Linked DNA regions of Homo sapiens: region 1 is linked to region 2. The links are contacts of gene promoters, found by promoter capture Hi-C in blood cells and fetal thymus (Javierre and others, 2016). All regions are on one chromosome and are shown on one strand. The core of a region is centred on a gene start or on the middle of the fragment in contact, and the rest is flanking DNA. Distances in the headings are between cores, read along the strand shown. Region 1 has its middle 110 kb from the start of SLC12A2. Region 2 holds the start of CTXN3 (cortexin 3).

What was found. Contacts are between HindIII fragments. The CHiCAGO score rates a contact against its expected background, and 5 or more counts as called.
Region 1: a fragment that was not itself captured here is called in contact with the fragment with the promoter of CTXN3 in region 2 in 1 of 17 cell types (M2 macrophages); the score reaches 5.1 in M2 macrophages.

Annotation. Positions count from the first base shown.
Region 1 is chr5:128,190,172-128,193,229 of GRCh38, reverse strand. No RefSeq gene overlaps it. Among named protein-coding and RNA genes, the nearest start is that of SLC12A2, 110 kb to the right of the region's middle. The HindIII fragment of the contact is 232 bases long and covers 1,655-1,886 here.
Region 2 is chr5:127,647,368-127,650,419 of GRCh38, reverse strand. CTXN3 (cortexin 3) reads right to left here and starts at 1,338. Exons shown (of 3, transcript NM_001048252.3): 1 at 1,032-1,338. The HindIII fragment of the contact is 10,433 bases long and covers 1-3,052 here.

The sequences.
Region 1 (3,058 bases), core at 521-3,020, 540 kb before region 2:
GAAGCAGATGACCTAGATTTTCTCTGATTTTTAGTTAAATGTGGGTCAGCACTATTCTTTAGGTCACTCCCAGTGGTATCTATTGGTTTGGTTTTCCCAACCTCCCTTTAATTTTTTTAGAGACGTGTTCTCACTGTTGCCTAGGCTTGAGTGTGGTGGCAGAATCATAGCTCATTGCAGCCTTGAATTCCTGGGCTCAAGTGATCCACCTCCTGAGTGGCTGGGTCTACAGGAATGTACCACCATGCCCGGGTTAATTATTTTTTTGTAGATACAGGATCTCACTATGTTGCCAAGGCCAGTATTGAAATCCTGGTTCCACCGATACTCCCGCCTCAGCCTCACATAGTGAGATTACAGGCGTGAGCCACCATGCCTGGCCTCCTTTTTTTTCAATAATAAAATCTGTTTTAAATGGAGAATCTACTTCAAGTCAAGTGGGCACAAGATTCATGTCTAATCAATGGCATGGCTGAATTGGGGGGATCACATTTCCCAAACTGAGCCCATTGGGACCCTTCCCTAGTCTTTTCTGCCAAAGCTTATGAGGAGACACCACCTTTTTACTGCAGCTGTTGTTAAGCCACCAGGACTGAGTATGGTTTTCTCAGAAGCCACAGAGCACACTACATGATGACAGTCTATGTGAAGAACTGTCACGCTTAGAAAGGCAAACCAGAGAAGGAAAGATGAGCCCTAAGGACCCCGTTCCAAGTCCCTGCTTACACTCACTGAAGTCCCTAAGCTCAGCTGCCTTCTATGGCTTCCTTTTTCTGTTACCCACCTTTGGGTTCTGTTCTTGCCACTGACAAAGACCTAATATAAAAGGGAAACACTGAGCAATTTGGAAAGGAGATAATCATTTGAATTCACAGCTGGTGTTAAGGGGAGATGGAAGTTACATGTATACCATGAAAGAAAGGACAAAAGGAAGTGTAAAGAAGGGAGGTTATATTGAGAAGTAGCCTACGTGAAGAATTTCACTTAGAGATTATGTGGCAGGACTAAAGTATGTGTTAACAAGCCCTGCCATTGATTCTGAGGCACACTAAAGTTTGGGAACCACTGTTCTAATCAATGTTTCAATACAAAATATACCTGTGCTTCCTTACCAATTTTCTGAAAAAACCCAAGTGCGAAATTTATGTTAATACTACTAAACTCACAAGGGCATGGACAGTAAGCAATGGATAGTCTTTACTGATGGAAAGACCACAGAGAAAACAGACTACCTGAAAGATGTAGATTATTATAGCTCTGAGACTGGCACCGTGTAGCTAACAGAAGGTGCTGGTTGTGTCAACAGATTTAAAAATTCAGAAAAAAACTAACTTCTTCACAGTTCACTATTTCCCAAAAGGAAATATGACACTAAGACTTAAAGGCACATATTTTGCAATTCATAAACCTTTTCTTGGAGCATAATTTTTCATCTCACTGTCACCAGCCACCTCCTTCCCAAACTGTCCTTGTCATCTTCTAAATTTCTTAAATAGTAACATTTCTTAGGAACTCAGAGGATAGTTTTCATGGCTTAAGCAAAAATGTTGTAAACTTAAAAATAATCTGTGACTTTCTGGTTATCCAAATGCATGCCTATAGATTGCTCCTTTTCAAATTGTGACTTCCTTGAAAAAATGGCTCAACTGAAGCTTAATTTAGAATGTAAAAGAGCAAATGTAGTATCTTTTAGTAGTTATACACCTTTATATGTACCTTATATAAATAAATATGAACAGTGCCTACTTAATTTTAAAACTGTCTTTTTTAGTATATCTTAGAGATATAATAGCTGGATATAAAGTCACCCTATAAATTGCTTGCTTTCTTAAGACGAAGTTAACTCTTCCAGGATGAAACCTCCACAATTCTCTACCTCAAAAGCTTCGGTAGTATTCTAACAAAATTCTGACAAGTATTGAGTCAGATTTTGGCATTCAATACCAATGGATCCTGATCCTGTTTTGTGGATCAAAAAAGTAAGCTTATTTTCATTTGTAGCTTTGGGTAGAATACACTGGTAGTTTGTATTCATATCCTAGAATCGTGGAACAAAGGATATGTGTTACCAATACACTATCATTTTGGGGAATGAGTTCCTGATCTGTGAGGACAGCAGCCACAAGGAAGGCTGCACAGCAGGAGGGGACAAATGCAGAGGCATTCACATTTTCCCTAATAGTTTCAAACTTTTACCTTGTCTAAGAAAAAATTAAAAGGTAGATTTAAGGAGGGAAAAAAATGGGCTGAGGTTCTTAATGCTATCATTTAACAGACCATGTTAAATGCCCATCATATAGGTAAAACAGGTCCATCACCATTGCCACCAGATTCCATACAGGACAATGAGACTTAGATCCTTAGGTATTCGACTACTACCAAAAAAAATATGTCAAGTTGGTTAACCCACCAACATGTTGTATTTATTATCTGAACTAGAGAAACTAAATAGTACTTTCTATTGAGCATATCCTAGAACTTGTACCATCTTTTCCCCAAAAGTTAAACATTAAACTACCATCTATTTCCTCTGGACCTACAAACTTCCTATAGGTACATAAACATAAAGAGGGAAGCATATCAAATGGATTTATCTTTTCTTCCTGGTGAGTGAACAACAAAAGCCTGCTGGCTCAAAGGTGAATGATGTTCCTGTTTTAAAAACTGTTGGATGGTCTGATATTAGAAAATGTCACATACATAGTTGCCTTCAAATTCTCTTTTAGCTTTCCAAATAAGTGAGTAAACTGGCCTGAATAGTGGCTTGAGAATAAGGAAGATGACAAATCAAAAAATGGATATTTACATTTTGTTTCAAACCTATTAAAGGCAGCCTGTAGCCAACCTATATTTCTAACTATAATTTGCCTTACCTGAACACACATTTACTGGGCGGACAGGTGTAAGTAATTTGGAAATGACCAATCTGGAAATGACCAATCTATCCCAGCCATCTATCTTATGGATCAGCCAGCAGTGAATGCATAATAAAGAAATTCCTGGGGATAAAAGACCTGGGCTCTAGACCAATATCCTTCCTTGATTTACCCCATGACCT
Region 2 (3,052 bases), core at 89-2,588:
GGGGGGCTAAGGGTAAATATATTTTATACTCTCAAAACATAGACTCAAGTCTACTAGAAAGCCTACGAACAATGATTTCATAAACATGAGGATGTCTTCAGCTACAGATGTCAACAGGCAGTTTCAGAACTGTTGCCAGCCCCCACTGCTGCACTGGGAAGTCTGTTCTCTGCTTGTTTCTGCAAAGTCAGCCTGCAGACACGTCTGCTTGGGCTGGGAGTGGACCCTGTTATTCTCAACTCACTGCTGCTTTTAAGCTCTGGGTCAGCAGGAGACCTTTGTCTTCAGCCTCAGCCCCAATCTCAGCTTTACTTCTTCCCCATCTTCATCTTCCTCTTAATATCTGCTTGAGGAATTTTTAAGGGACTGCAGGGCAAGGCTACTGCCTAGCTGAGAACATCAGAAAACACCATGAGGGTGCCTAGTCAGGAATCGGTGGTATCAGAAGGCACCCTTAACGAACTGGAACTTTTAACTTCAAATAATAAGCCCTACTGTTCCACCTGGTTTTCTTTGTCTTTCTTTGTGTGTTTCATAGTGAAAACGGCTACTTGCTGATATCTCAAAAGGATAGTGCTGCACACAGCTTATCAGCCAGGGACAGTCAACGCTGTCAATATGAGTGGTTGAGTTGTGATCCTTTGTAAACAAATCAGAACATCCTTGTTACATTTTGGAAGGTTGGACGTTTTAGGTGACTGAAAAAAAAAATACGATAATGGGCAAACAGCTTTCAGAAATAAATTACTGCAGCTTAGGAAAGAAAAAAAAGCCTGTTTTACTACTTCTTCATCCAGTATCAATAACATTATAAACTTAACCATGCTTTAAAAATAAAGGCATCATTACATTTTACCCCCTCGCTTCTTAACTTTATCTAGCAATTGTTTAATTAGACTTATCTAACAGCTAGATCTAAATTCACAACTATGATCCGAAAGGCATGTATGCGATGATTGCTCATGCATCAATTGTAAAGTTAGAGAAAAGCATTTAATTAGCCCGTCAAAGATACAGGTTGGGTCAAGTACCTGGCTCTGGCTGAACAAACACTTGATCCATTTCCTGGTGGAACAGTTACAGGTAGTTACAAGCCTCTTTAGTTTCCATTCTTCCCGACCACGCTGTGTGAAAGCAGTAGACAGTGGTAGCTGCAAGGCAGCTGATGGCACACCCCAGGTCTAAAGCTGTTGTTTCAGGCTTAGAAACTTCCCATTAAAACCCCGAGTTAAAGGAGCATCGTCTTTCTGTGTGAGGCATCATTAACGGCCAATACTGCTGCTTCTTTGAGGTGAGCCATGATTTCAGTTCTGCCTCAGCAACTCTTCAGAGGATTCTGCTTCAGCGAGTAGAGGCAGTATCCTAGCAGTGTGTCTGAAATCATCTTCAAGAAAGCATTAACATTCAAAAGGAGTACGGGGTTGGGGGGTGGGGAAACATCACAGGCATTCCTATACCTTTTCAAAATCAAAGCCATAAATCTACCAGTGCTCTGTCCTCTTTATTGATTGTTGACACTATTCCTCTTTGGGAGTGTCAATTAGCACGTCGCAGCAAGTCTTCATATTGATTATTGTTGATGACCTTCAGGCCAACTCAATTAACAGGAAGACTTCTGGGGAAGGGCATCAACTTAGCATTTGGGAGAGGGAGAAAAGGCTCATTTTCCTAAAGAAAACTAAAGTGACCTTTCCAAAAAGCAGCATTTATGGGAAGGAAAGAACCATTTAAAAATATCAAAATCATAGTTTCACCACCTGTCACCTGCTTGTAAATTAGCTGGGCAGTTGGTTGCCAGGTCCAGTGTCTCTCTGAGCAGCCTGCATAATTGTGGCATTGGGAAAGCCCCCACCCCACACAGGGCACCTGAGACCACTCGATGAATAAAGAAGATTGATTTTTGTGAGAGAAAGTTGTTCTCATTCTGCAGATTCTAGTTACTTGCTACAATGCTTAAATTACTTTCGTTGGATAAGTAAATTTGGAAAATATTTTAGGATAAAATTCTTCATTAAAAAAACACTTCTCTAAGAAGAATTCAGCCTAATGCTTAAGACGGAGCATCCTTGTTTTTTGGCAACTCACCACTTTCTTTGTTGAAGTGGCGGCACAGTTAGCGACAACACACCCACCCACCAAATGATGGGGTGCGTGATATTTAAAGCTGCCTCTGACTGTGCCTGTCAGCTATGCTGTCTCCTCAGCTCTTGTGAGCAACCGGCCATTACCCAAAGGCTCTAGGAAACTGGAACCAAGCTCATCTTCTAAGAGGGAAACCCCATCTGCTCACAACGGACCACAATCCTGGATAGGATAGGCCTCGGACCCCAAAGGAACCTTTCAAATCAAATGCTAAATGTTAGGATCGAATGCTTGATGTTAGAGTCTAACCTCAAGACAATATGCAGGTTCTTTCCCCATTTGTTTTCCTAATTTTTAACTGAATTTTCTTTCCAATTCATTTTACTTACCCTATTTTCAGACACACACATACCACACACCGTAAGACAATGGGACACATGAAATCCAACTGAGCACGATCATCCTGTACTAACTGGCATCCCTCTTGCATTTAGTCAATTCTGGCAGAGGGAGTGCCTGTTTTGGCAATGCCAACAGAGTGTGGTTGAGGAATCTTTCCGACCTCACCCTCCTTCCTATAATTATCATTCCATGCGGTGAGAAAATATCATAGTTAGACATGAGCCTGGGTGACTGTAGCTTACCCTGCCAAAGAGGCCTTCTCGGATATGGTTTAGCCTACAGACTCGTAGAGGGAGAAGGGAACCTGAAAAGGCCTGGGGCTGTCCTCTAGCTACTCTGCAGGCTGAAACCATCCCAGAGAGATGAGTGCCTGGCCTATTTTAAAAAGTCTCCAGAGAAGTAGATGCCATAACTTCCTCTGACAACCTCTGTTTAAACAAACTCCTCTGCTGCTTACTTAGTCTAAATGTGTTGGCGCATTTCTTTTCATTCTGTCCTTGCTGCAAAAAGTCAGGCACTAACCACTCCAAAATTTTGTTAGAATGCCCTTTCCTTTCAGAGAAGCCGA